Linked DNA regions of Homo sapiens: all the other regions are linked to region 1. The links are contacts of gene promoters, found by promoter capture Hi-C in blood cells and fetal thymus (Javierre and others, 2016). All regions are on one chromosome and are shown on one strand. Each heading gives the region's core, a stretch centred on a gene start or on the middle of the fragment in contact. The rest is flanking DNA. Distances are from core to core; before and after follow the strand shown.

Region 1 (3,516 bases), core at 346-2,845:
GCCCTGCCAACTCTTTTGGATTATTTTTTAAAATGAGGAACATTTCAGATTTAGTTTGTAGCAATTCAACTTTGGGAGTCTTGCAAGAACTCACTTATTTTAATGGAAAATAGCCCAGGTTGTCTACCAGCTTTTCCTGAGCTCTGTTTTGGGTGTTCTACCCAAAATAAAAAACGTATAAACACAAAAATAGTAATGTTCATGTCTGTGACAGCCAATGTTAAGTCTCTGCTGTTGTCTATGGCTGTTATCCAAAAAGTAGATTCAATTCTGTCATGTATTGGAGTCTGGGAATGTTGTTAAGAGATACATACATTGAAATTTGGAGAGCTGCTCTGTATTTATCAATTAGGCAGTAATAATCTTGGATGAAGGCTAGTCTTATTAATGTTGTGAACCAGTCTTATTAATGTTGTGAACCAGTAGTGTCCCCAGGAATAGAGAACACTACACTACTCACTTTGCATTTTCTTATCCACATAATAGAATTAGTTAGTGATAACCCTCTTTACTCGGAATCGATTGCTGCCACATTTCTGCATGATACATAGATCTCTGCAAATATGTGATTTTTTTCCTAAATGGAGAAAATCCAAAAATTCTTCTTAAAATTTTTCATGGGCATACAAGAAGATAGGAGGTGACATCTTAAAACAAGTATCTCTGAACTTTTTGTATAAAAAAAAGCAACCTCTTTGCTCTATTATTAATACCACATGTGGTGATATGAATGCCCAAATGTAGACAGCAGTTATGAGATATTACAAGAGAAGAAAAAAGCTCTGCCGCTTATGGCAACTTACCCAAAAAGTTATCTTTGACTTAGGCTGGAGGTGCACATAGCATAGCTCCTAGAGTTCTGTTTATGTCATGAATATTTGTTACTCAAAACTCCATAGGCCAAGAGCTCCTGAAGAGAAGGTCACATGCTAGCAGCAATTGTCATTTTTTCCCTCAAATATTGCTATAGTATAATTTTGTTTGAATTATAAACTTCAGTCTTTATTATATTTGATTCTGGCATTTTGGTTTGTAGTGCTATAGTACAGGAAATGTTTTAAATGCTTTGCCTTTATGTAAGTGAATATCGGTACACACACATACACATACACACACAGACACAGACACACACACACACACACTCACAGCCAGTTTAGAATGTGGGGTAAGGAACACCAGACAAAGAGGGCAATATAAGAAAGAGAAGACATTGAAAACATTGGGAAGAGGCAGTAACAGAGTGCCAGAGAAGATAAGGCAGCTGGGAGGGGGAGAAACTAAGTGAGGTGGATAAACTAAAAGCATCCTTCTGGGTTAAAGCAGACTAAAAGCTTAGCAATTGCTTAATATCACCATCTTATCCTATAGATGTGGGAATAAAGGCTAAGGAAGGAGAAATGAAAATGCAGAATCATATGGGGGCTTTTCCAAGGAGGTATGAAGGAAGGTGAGGACAGGGAGAGCGGCTGGAAGTCAGGGGGTAAGAGAAACTCTAAAAATCAGGGCTTGAGGGAAATAAAAGGTGAGGTAAGAGGCTCAGGGCTGTGGGAGGCACATTTTTCTCTGAAAAGCAGTTTGGATGAGGAAGAGATTTGGCAGTTGGAAGAGAGAAGAAGTCACTACAGGGTACTGAGGAAAAGCTTTGCTGAAATTGGAGATCAAATACCAGCTCTGCCAGTAAGAAGTTGCATCTCCCAGTGAAATGCTGCTGCTGCCATTTCAACTGTTAGCTGTTCTCTTTCCTGGTGGTAACAGTGAACATGGTAAGAGTCACTCTGGCAGCTCCCAGCACTGGTGCAGGGGTTTGGATTTTAAAAAGCAAGCAGGGCTTTCCTAGGTGCAATTGGACACTAAGGGTCTGGGTCTTTCTGTCTCCCGCCCTCTTCAACCATTCTGGTGGTTGGGACTAGAACCTGAAGCCTTAAGGCAGTCAAATGTGTCAGACTTCCTGTGTTCTTTAGACTCTAGGTTCTTGTTTTCTAAATCATTTTCATTCCCATTCTTCCTAATTGTCTCCTGCTTCTCTCTTTATCTTCACCATCTTGCTTTTCCACTCTTCACAGCCTTCCAGGGGCCGACCTCCTTTCATGTTATCCAGACCTCGTCCTTTACCAATAGTACCTGGGCACAAACTCAAGGCTCAGGCTGGTTGGATGATTTGCAGATTCATGGCTGGGATAGCGACTCAGGCACTGCCATATTCCTGAAGCCTTGGTCTAAAGGTAACTTTAGTGATAAGGAGGTTGCTGAGTTAGAGGAGATATTCCGAGTCTACATCTTTGGATTCGCTCGAGAAGTACAAGACTTTGCCGGTGATTTCCAGATGAAATGTGAGTCTAGTCCACCGAACTGGGAAGAGTCTCAAGGACTCTCTTTTCTCTCTTTTTTGCAAAGTGTTGCTCTCTCTGATGCTTCTCCCTTCCTTTCTATTTTACCCAAATGCACGCACATGCTTTTCTTGAGTAGTCTCTCACTCCAGCTTCACACCATCACACCTCATATTTCAGATTCTTGCTGCCTCTGCACTCTTCTCTTACTCTCAGACTGTCTTCCACTTTGTAACCAGCTGCTGGTTTGTCTTATGTGAAACTTCTCCTCAAGGGCCCTTACTTCTCCTACCCTGTGCCTGAGTGATCTAACGTGTGGCTTTCTCCCCTAATCCATCTTTTCAATCATCTCCTCCCCGCACCCTCCTCTTGCTGGGAACCTCCACTCACTCTGGAATGCTGCACTCCTGACTGCACCACGCTCTGCCTCACCTCTCCTTTCATACTCACTGTACTCCTTTATCACATACCTTTGTCTTCATGGCATGCACATTTTTCTCAATGCTCTTGTTTCTGAAAATGTCTAAATGTTATCATTAGTTTTTAGCTCATCATCATTTTACACCAAATAACTTTATCCCCACCAAAATCTAAAATCCTAGGTTCTTTTCTCATGCCTTTTTTTCTTATTTGTGTTTAATAACTTGCTCTCTTTTCCCTCTACATAGACCCCTTTGAGATCCAGGGCATAGCAGGCTGTGAGCTACATTCTGGAGGTGCCATAGTAAGCTTCCTGAGGGGAGCTCTAGGAGGATTGGATTTCCTGAGTGTCAAGAATGCTTCATGTGTGCCTTCCCCAGAAGGTGGCAGCAGGGCACAGAAATTCTGTGCACTAATCATACAATATCAAGGTATCATGGAAACTGTGAGAATTCTCCTCTATGAAACCTGCCCCCGATATCTCTTGGGCGTCCTCAATGCAGGAAAAGCAGATCTGCAAAGACAAGGTTAGTCCTGCTGTTATTTCACTTCCCACCACCTCCTCTAAGATCAAGAGTAGGAAGATATCAAAGGATAGGAGCTTAAATAACAAGTTATTTGGTTCCCAAAGGAGTGAATGGGGTCGCTGTCCAAGCTTGTAGGTTTCTGAGTTCATAACCTCTGAACTCGAGTTATAACATGACACTTTTTTTTCTCCTTCCTGCCTTAGTGAAGCCTGAGGCCTGGCTGTCCAGTGGCCCCAGTCCTG
Region 2 (3,393 bases), core at 406-2,905, 93 kb before region 1:
GTAAGAGAAGAAGGGTGATGAGCCCATGCAAGTGTACTACCAATAACAGAAAGAGAGACTCACAATTAAAAGTACATCAAATAATGTTAATCAGGATTATTTAAGTTTTAAAGTGTTTTTCTGCAAAATTGTGCATATAAATTTTATATATTCTTAAATTAACTGATTCATTTTTCTTTCTAAATTTTTATATGCACTCTGTTGGTTCTGATTTAATTTGACAGGGCACTCAACAATATTTTAATTAAAAATTTTAAATAATGACGTTTTTGTAGAAAGGACTGTATCAGATAGGATCTACACAAAGATATAATACCTAATATGTGCTGAGAACTTAATAAATGCTCTGAAAATAGTTATAATTGACAGATATAAAGACTAAGAAACCCTGCCCTCTGGGAACCCAAAAACAGAAACAGGCAAAAACACTAGCACAAGGACATAGACTTAGGAAAAGAACACCGTAAGTAACTGCTGCCAAAAAAGAGAAAGTAATTATGGATGAAACAAATATCTTCAGAAGGCAGGATAATACTGTGGAAATCACATTCTTCTGAAAGAGAAAAGACCTCTGTTCCATTGCTAACACATCCACTCAGTTGCTTTCTAGTCTTAGAAACTTCATAGCACTCTCTGAAGCTCAATTTCTTCATCTGTCTGATGAAACTACTAAGCTAGATCTTTAAGATCATATACAGCTGTAACTGTGACTCTGGCTTTCTGGAGACCTCTTGAGTAAGAGACAAGAACTACTGCAACATACCTTTCCCAGTCCTGAAAAATGAAATGATCTTTATTTTATTAAATCCCTCCCAAAACCAACAAAGGTACAGGAAGCAATGTGAAAGGTATGTTCTTCTCAAAACTAGCAGTGCTCTCTGCCCCTTTTCAATTCCAAGTTAAACTTACATAAATAATGTCTGTGAAACCACTCAACTGTTACAAAAGCATTGTCTCATCCATTTTAAAGAAATCTTAAAAGTTAGGTTAGCTGACATCAGAATGAATGAACCGCATTACAAAGATGAGAAAATTGATTCAGACTCATCAAAGTCCTGTAGCTAATACATAGCAAAGTTGAAAACTGAGGCCATAACAAAATTGTAGCAGAAGTCTTTTCCTTGAAATAGCTTTATCTGGAAGGAGAGTGTTGAATACTGCTTTCCCTTTCTCACCACACACACACACACACACAGATTGTACTGTAGTCTAGTGTTGGTTCCACCAGCTGTGTGAACTTAAGAGGAGTCCCCAAACTCTGATTCTCAAATTTCTTATCTTTATAATAAAGATATTAAAAGTAATAAAAACTTCATAAGGTTGCTGTGAGGACCAAATGAGAGAATATATGTAACAGTATTTTCACCAAATCTAGAACAAACAGAGCATGTGATAAATGTCAACTTGCCTTACATTATTACAAGATAATTCTAAATTTTGATTAATAAACTGATACCAAAATTGTGTTCTATTTTTTCTTCCTGGAAACATCAAAAGCAATATTGATAGACACAATGGAATAATGCTCCCAAAAAACATAACTGAGTTTATTTTTTCTTTGTTTTTGTCTACTTGTTTGCTAGTTTTTTGAGTGTGTGACCTCAACATGAAACATGAAGTTTATTGTAAGGAAACAGAAGAAGAGAAAAGGGAGAATAATTAGTGTGTCTTGTTTCATGGGCCTTTGTAAACTTACATTTTAATTCTGAAAGGCCAGTCAACATTAAAGAAAAGATTAGTTAGTTCAATCAAAATATCTAGATAAGTAATGGCATTTAGACTCAGCCAGTACTTTTATTAAAATTCTTACAGGTGAAATTCAAATACTACTTGTTCTTCAAAGCCTTCTCTAAAATTATTGGGTTTTTCCTCCAGATTTTCAGGACATTTTGTTTATACTTATTTTATAATGTTTATAGGCTATTTTATAATATGAATAGGTGTTTGATTCTTCTCTGAGAAAAGGGCAATGATTTTATTCATAATTATATCTATAGTGCTTAGATAGTAACAGAAATCATGAAATCGTAAAACATGAGAATTGTTAGACAATCTGCCCCAGTCTTTAGGAACTCAATAAATTGTTGAGATTGATGCCTAAATATGTATGGCCTCCCTTCAAGAGCAAAACAGAACTCCGTGGAAAACCAAGTTACTTTCAGTCAGGCTTGGAGAGCCTCAAGGGAAGAATAATTTCTCTTAAATTTTCTCTTCCTGAGAAAATACAGAAAAATCAGTTTCAATAACTTCCCATGAGTTAAATGCTTATTGCCTCACTGATGAAAATATTTCTGATACCAATACCTATAGAACAACAATAAAGTAATAAAACAGAAGTACTTACTAAGCACTCCTTATTTATGGGACAAATCTCTTTCATATATATTGCCTGAATTAATTCTCATGATAGCCCAGGAGGCAGGAATTATTCTTATCATACAAATGAGAAAATAGGCCTTAGAGAATTTATTAAGGTTTTACCACTAGAACTTGCCAGAGTCAGGATTAAAGCCTACATCTGTCAAAATGTAAAGCCTATTTTATTCCTACATTACTCAACTTTACATGTGCTTGTGAGAGGAAAATTTCAGATTCTACATGTAGAAATTTATTAGTAGTACTAAAAACTAGAGAATATAGAATTTGAAAGTTAATAGTATGATAGTAATAAATATGCCAACCACCTAGGCAAAAAAAAAAAAAAATATTGGGCGAAGAACCAGAGGAATAAGATAGAGGAGGAGGAGGGTGATTGCCCCTTTCATGGGGTTGAGGAAGGGAGTGATATAAAGTAGAACATGCAAGCAGAAAACATCCTTGCACTCTTCCAGGAGCAAGGAGAAGCAAATGTACTTACTTGCCCTATTTATATATTTAGATTAAAAGTTTTAGAAACTAAATAGTGCCTGTGTTATGATATTTCTCCAAGTATACTTAGTTCAGCCTTTTCATAACATATATAAAGAAACCTAGAAATAAATAAAAAATACATATCATTTTTCAAGGATGTATACAAGATATGTCTCCTGAGTGCTCCTATAATTTCAAATGCATATCCATCATCTCAATCACCACATTTTTAATAATATCTTCTGAATGGGTCTCACCCTTGAAACATGAACTAGAGGCTCGGGACTGGGTCTTATTTAAATGTGTATCTTCATTGCAGACCTAGTAGCTGACACATTGTTATAATCACACTGCTTAATACATGTGTACTATCTGATATTCTTGATTTGGTGGTTCTTAGGTAACATAAAAATGCATTGTCATTAATTTTGTTATTAATATTAGTTAAGGTGATTTTAATAATATACTTTTAATGGGATAATTGTAAGGTTATCTTTATGATTTTTCTCTCACTTATTTGAATTCTAATTTGCTCTACAGAGC
Region 3 (3,453 bases), core at 818-3,317, 120 kb after region 1:
TTAAATGAGGTAATACATTCAAATAAAACCTTTTAAACTGAAAGTACTTTCATTCTTGTGTAAGGAAACCATGAAAGTAAGAAACACAACATTCTATTTTGCCACTGTATCTTAAATTAACTAGCTTTTATTGTCAGTTTAGTGTTCAGCGCACCAAGGGTACATTTCATACTAAGATTGTGCAAGTGACAGTAAATGCCTCCTTAAATTTTCCATCTTAGGCACCTCCACTGCTTTTAGACCTGGCTATGTTTTATATTACTTATATGCATTTTTTTTTCTTTTGGAAAAAAGATAAGCTTAAAAACGTTTTTGTTGATGACATGCTATTGCTGAAATAAAAACCCAGAACATAGTGGTGTGTAGGAAAAAAAAAAAAGAATTTTAAATACAATGTTACATAATTTCTTGAATTCCAGCTAAGTTGTACCTCAAAATTCATATAATGATATATCACCAAAAATTATTTTTAATAATTACACAGATGAAAACTCACTTAGATCTTATTTCAGTTTTTTAAATTAAAAAAAGTAACTCCAATTAATTTGAAAAGGGATTTCTTATCTAGCCAACAGAAGAACTTACTTTCTCAACCACATCAGCAATGTTTCAAATTGTTCTTTTGTTTAGAACCCCTGAAGTTTAGCATCATTCCTTGACAATACACCAAAATAAGCTTTTGAGGGATGAGCTATATGCTTTTCCTCATGGGAAACCAATTATGAAAAGGGTCATGGGAAGTTAGAAGCATCAAGAAAATTACCTAAGCATGTGAATTTTGGTGAAGAGTATGTATAAAATTTGGAAATTTATCCCCTTAATACTGTCCATCCCTATACCCCCTTTGAAAGTTTTTATGTACCTACTAGGTATATATAAAGTCTTTATGTACCTACTAGAATATACTTTGGCAGAGCAATGATTTGTAGGCCTATGAAGATCCACAGAGGGACATCACACAAAAGGGAGAATTCGTCTCTTTCTTGTCCATGTACATTTATGGTATCTCCTTGTTCTAGACACTGAAAGAATCTACCTGTATATTTCTAAGTGATGGAGATTATGAGTCCTGCTATGGTCTTTGTGCTTGAGTTGACTCCTTCCATGAAACTTCAATCTGCCTTCTACCACCTCATGCTCTTAAGAGATTCACAAGAATCCACAAACCAGCCTAGACCCAGTGGGCTTCTGTCATTTGGGATTGGCTTCCAAATATTCTATATAAAATATTTTAGACTTCTATCAATAACATAAATGACTAGAATACTTAGTTTATACACAAGAACTAAGAAATACTTTTTGAGAAAATGATAAAGGGGATGTTCCCAACCAGAAATCTAGATTATCCTTATCCATTTAAGGGGTGAAAGTGTTACGGGATCTTTGGGGTGTCAATTTTCTGGCTGGAATCTTCTGCGGCCAGTGGCACCTTTATCCAACTTTTGCTCAGAGACTGCTGGGTTCATTCCACCCACTTGGTCTGGCAGGCTGCACTTGGTTCACACTACCAGTCTGGATCCCACACCTGCCAAGGGTGAGCCAGGTGCACAGTGACAAGAGGTGTGTGAGAGAGTGTGGGATCCAGCCACTGTACACAGTCAGACACACCAGCTGCTGCCACGGGGTGGGCAGTTCCAGGTACTGGCATGGATGCTGGCTCTCTGCAAGGCTGTGGCTGGATCAGGTGCACTGCAAGAAGCTTCCCTGGCTAGCACCAGGGAATGCAGTGGCACCCAGAAGGTTTGAGACACCAGGAACTGCAGGACCCCAAAAAGGAAGCCACAGCCCTGGCATGGGGGGCTCTTAGGTCTGGGCTCCCGAAGAGCCACAGCTCTTCTCTTCTTCTCCTCACCCACAATGTTTCAAGTAAGGGGCATGTCTCAGCCCCATTTGTGTTACAGCTCTTTTAGCCTTGCCATCTGGTGGCTCCTGAGTTTTTGTCCTGCAACCAGGAAGAATGAGGTATGCAGACAAGTGGAGGATGAACAAGATGAAGATGAGCTTTATTGAGCAATAGAACAGCTCAAAGGAAGGCAGCTCCTCTCCATAGCCAGTGTGTGCCAATGGTGTTTTCACCTCCCAGCAGAGAGGGTAGCTCTTCTCTGCTGGGTAGGTCATCCCCACAAGTGTCCACCTCTCAGCAGAGAAGGTAGTTTCCCTCTGCAGCTGGTCATCTCATCATCTCCTCAGCTCTCAGCAGAGAGGAGACCCTGGGGTGGGCAGATCCTTTCTGCAGCTCATCGTCCTGTCCTGCCATCTCCCTATCATCTCTACATCCTCTCCTGGAGTCTGGCTGAGTCCAGGGTTTTTACGGGCCTCAAAGGGAAGGAAGTGCATGCTGATTGGTCCACGGGTGGCCATCAGCGGGCCCAGGATAAAGCACCATGGGTTCCCCCTGTGGTCTGTAGAACTGGCAGACCATCCCCCAAGCTTCAGGCCTTCCGTGGCTTGAAGGTGGGGCTTCAATGGGGACGCACCCCCTTCTGCCTCCTACTGCCATTCATGGCACCCAGGCTGTTTATGCCAAGAGGCACCTGAAGGCCAGCACCAGTCTGTCCTCAGCTCTCCCTCGGCCTCCCTCCCATGCTTGTCAGAGCCCAAAGTCCAGAGGAGGATGAGGCAGCAGGCGGCTGGTGTGTCAGGGCTGCCTGAGCATGTACACCATTGGCCAGGCTGTGACAGTGCCTCGGCTCAGCGCCACACTGCTCTTAGATCAGAGCAGGCACTGACAGCAGGGAAAACGCAGGCAGGAGGAGCAGGCACTTCTGAGCCTGCAAGGGCTGGGGGACCTTCCCAGGCCTCCAAGAGTGCAGAGATGCCTGGGTCCACAGCTGCAGTTTGGGAAGCTGCAGCCAGGCCCAGGAGGGCAGGGCTGTTGCCTGCTCCTGGCTTCTGCTGGCTCTGTGGAGTGCTACATCACTCCAGATCCAGCTCCACCTCGGGGCTCCTCTCTGCCTGCTCCTCTGTAGCCAATCAAGTTGCTCCCCCGCTGGTGGGTAACCCAGCCCAGTCCCATGGCAGCGGCTCCCAGGGCAGAGGGCTCCATGGGAGGATCCTAGGGGCGGGCCCCAGGGACTGTCTGCCTCCTCCCCATGCCCTCCCCGCAGCAGTGGTGGGCGAGAACAGTGAGGCGGAGCCAGGATCCAGAGCGGCAGAGGCTCCGGGCCTGGGAGCAGGTCCCACCTGGCTGCACAAGGATGGGGGTGGCACAGTTGGCTATCACGGGGATACAGGCACAGAGAACCCACCACCACCATTGCTGCTCCTGCAGCCCCTCTTGCTGCCACCAATCATGCCTTCCCACTGCAGCTGGCATGATGGCAGTGGCCACTCCAGGCAGCCCTCCACTGCCATCAAAAGGATATCAAAATGACTTTCCATAAGTAACATATTGCTAGCCACTCAGAGGCACAGCCAAAATCAGCTCATCAAAAATTTGAGGATAAATGTGAT
Region 4 (3,211 bases), core at 524-3,023, 67 kb after region 1:
CATTTTAAATTACTTCTAGTCCCATGTTTTTTGTCAGTAGAATTGTTTCCTAAAGGAAACCACTCCTTCATAATGGCTCTCCCTGTCAGAATTGTGTGCACTCTGTAACATCTTTGGTGGTGGTAGTCCTGTTTTTCTAATAACTTTGTTACCATGCTGTGAAATACTAAAAATTTGAGTGTGTAGTGTATATGCTATTCAATTGTGAGTTGGTGGGACATCTGTTAACAGCTTATCAACATGTGAAGATACTGGTACTTGGTAGCCTCTTAAGGAAAATTTGCCTCCAAATTTTAAGCAGGAAAGTTACTGGAACAACTTTAAAAAATAATTACAATACATGGCTTTTTAGATTTTCAGTACATATATTAAGAATTGAAATATCTGTGTACTGACCCTCAACACAACCAATAAAATCTCAATTATAAAAGAAAAAAAGTGGTACTATTTGATGTGTACAACTCTAATTGCAATACAGGTATTGTACTGTATGCTTCGTGTATTGATGCATTGCATTCAGCACTTTCTTGAAGACCTTCGCAACAGTCTGGTCTGTTGTTTCTACACATGTATACTTAATCAACAAACATCTCCAAATTCATATATGGGTGTATATCTCATATATGTTATATATACCCATTTTATTGTTAGAATTCCAAATAGTTTTCTTAATTGTCTACGCATTAATTTTTCTCAGTGTGTAGTTTGTTGAAGAGAAATTCTTAATTTTACAAAGTAAAATTCAACTATTTTTTTTTGGGACAGAGTCTCACTTCTGTCACCCAGGCTGGAGTGCAGTGGTGCAATCTTGGCTCACCACAACCTCCATCTCCTGGGTTCAAGCTATTCTCCTGCCTCAGCCTCCTGAGTAGCTGGGATTACTGTAATCCCACCCCCAGCTAATTTTTGTATTTTTAGAAGAGACAGGGTTTTGCCATGTTGTCCAGTCTGGACTGGAACTCCTGACCTCAGGTGATCCAGCCACCTTGGCCTCCCAAAGTGCTGGGATTACAGGCATGAGCCACTGCACCCAGCCCCAGTCCAAATTTTAAATGGCTGCTGTCCTCTGCCAATTTTTGGAAGCTTGACAAAGACAGCTTAGGAATTTTAGATAAATAGAGCAAATGATAAGCCTTTGGAAATGCATAGGAAACAAAATGACTATTCATAGAACCAAATACAAGCCTTACAGTAGAAACTAAAAAACACCAATTGTTTTATATGTATGTAAATATAAGTAAAACCCAAAGGAGAACAAACAGCAAATAAATGAAAATTAAAAGCAAAACCAACAGGAAAATAACTCCCAAATTTTCTCTTACTTAGTTTACCTTGGAGTCTACAGTGTTATCCAGGGCCTAAAAAAATATGATATTCTGTTTCTGATATACTAATTAATGTGTTTAAGTCCACCAGTACCACTCTACATTTTGTGCAATTAAGAAATTCACTTTAGGCATGTAACCAATAAGTACCTTAGTGCTAGTACTTTCTATGTAGAATAACAAATACAGTGTGAAACAAAGCAATGCAAGCATTTATGTAAAATTTGACTCCATGTTAAATCTGGCTTCAGGCTTAACTATATTTAAAAAGAATTATCAAACTGCCAATGTATTTATTTATAATAATTCTTATTGTACCTTCATCAAGACTAAGAGCTTTAACGGTGAACAATGTTAATTAGTCAAATGTCTCCAATTTTCTATCAGTTTTTAAAGGATATTTACTATATAAACTTTTCAACTTTTTATTTTCTGTTTATGTACATGAAGATAAACACACAGAGAAACAGAAAGAAAACAACATATGACTTCAACAAGGCATCTGTGTCATGCTTGAACTTTCTGTTTTGTCCTAAATTTTTTTTAAAAAATTCATTTATTTTTAGGAAAAAAAAAATGCTGTCAGATTGTTTTCTCAGGGGACACACATACACTGTTGGTGGGAGTGTAAATTAGTTCAACCATTGTGGAAAGAAGTATGGTGATTCCTCCAACAGCTGAAAACAGAAATATCCATTCAACCCAGCAATCCATTACTAGGTATATACCCAGAGAAATATAAATCATTCTACCGTAAAGACACATGCACACAAATGTTCACTGAAGCACTATTCACAATAGCAAACATGGATTCAACCTAAATGCCCATCAACGACAGATTAGATAAAGGAAATGTAGTACCTATGCACCATGTAATACTATGCAGCCATAAAAAAGAATGAGATCATATCTTTTGTGGGAACATGGAAGGAGCTGGAGGCCGTTATCTTTAGCAAACTGATGCAAGAACAGAAAACAAAATACCACATATTCTTACTTTTAAGTGGGAACTAAATGATTAGAGTTCATGAGCACCAAGAAGAAAACAACACGCAACACGCACTGGGGCCTCCTTGAGGATGGAGGATGAGAGGAGGGAGAGGAGCAGAAAAAAATAACTATTGGGTACTAAGCTTAGTACCTGGGTGATGACATAATCTGTACAACAAACTTCCACAACATGAGTTTACTATATAAAAAACCTGCACACGTACCCCAAACCTAAAATAAAAGTCTAAAAGAAAAGATACTTGTATAAAATTATCCTCTTTTCTTTTTAACCTTTCTTGCCAAAAATACATCTTTATGTTCTTAACTTTCTTCACATCTCTCTTCCCTACTTGCTGGTTCCTTTCTACCTTATTTCATAAATAAGTTTTTCGAGTCCATAATTGGGATCAAACTTTAGAAAACATTTGAATTAGACAAAATTATTCCATTTCTCAATAAGAAAACACCTTCTTTGGCAGGTTTTATATACTAAATTATATATTAACTACAATTCTTATTCTTAGTAACCTTAAATTTTAGTGAAAACTAGGAAGCAAGAAATCTTTAACTGTCTATCAAATATTTGCATTTTATAGATGAAAACATTCCACAATTTATAAAAACATGTTTCTCCATATCATAACCCTTTCTTAACTGGAAATGAGCCAGACATCCAAGAAGCATCAAAAATAATTTTAAGATTTTAAATTACACAAAAAGCTCACCTACAAGCATGTATCCCATTTACATGTATTCAATTCTTTCATCTTTTTAAACAATTTATAGGTCAGGCGCAGTGGCTCACGCCTGTAATCCCAGCACTTTGGGAGACCGAGGCAGGCGGATCACGAGGTCAGGAGATCAAGACCATCCTGGCTAACACGGTGAAACCCCGT

Evidence for each region. Contacts are between HindIII fragments. The CHiCAGO score rates a contact against its expected background, and 5 or more counts as called.
Region 2: a fragment that was not itself captured here is called in contact with the fragment with the promoter of CD1B in region 1 in 1 of 17 cell types (fetal thymus); the score reaches 7.2 in fetal thymus.
Region 3: a fragment that was not itself captured here is called in contact with the fragment with the promoter of CD1B in region 1 in 1 of 17 cell types (fetal thymus); the score reaches 11.0 in fetal thymus.
Region 4: a fragment that was not itself captured here is called in contact with the fragment with the promoter of CD1B in region 1 in 1 of 17 cell types (fetal thymus); the score reaches 6.7 in fetal thymus.

What each region holds. Positions count from the first base shown.
Region 1 is chr1:158,329,610-158,333,125 of GRCh38, reverse strand. It overlaps CD1B (CD1b molecule), which reads left to right and starts at 1,595. Exons shown (of 6, transcript NM_001764.3): 1 at 1,595-1,763; 2 at 2,064-2,330; 3 at 2,996-3,274; 4 at 3,478-3,516. The coding sequence starts at 1,703. The HindIII fragment of the contact is 309 bases long and covers 1,334-1,642 here.
Region 2 is chr1:158,422,540-158,425,932 of GRCh38, reverse strand. All of the region lies in intron 1 of OR10K2 (olfactory receptor family 10 subfamily K member 2), which reads left to right. Among named protein-coding and RNA genes, the nearest start is that of OR10K2, 2.0 kb to the left of the region's middle. The HindIII fragment of the contact is 4,551 bases long and covers 1-3,393 here.
Region 3 is chr1:158,212,153-158,215,605 of GRCh38, reverse strand. No RefSeq gene overlaps it. Among named protein-coding and RNA genes, the nearest start is that of CD1D, 33 kb to the right of the region's middle. RefSeq lists an enhancer at 2,931-3,453. The HindIII fragment of the contact is 731 bases long and covers 1,702-2,432 here.
Region 4 is chr1:158,263,176-158,266,386 of GRCh38, reverse strand. No RefSeq gene overlaps it. Among named protein-coding and RNA genes, the nearest start is that of CD1A, 10 kb to the right of the region's middle. The HindIII fragment of the contact is 1,375 bases long and covers 1,086-2,460 here.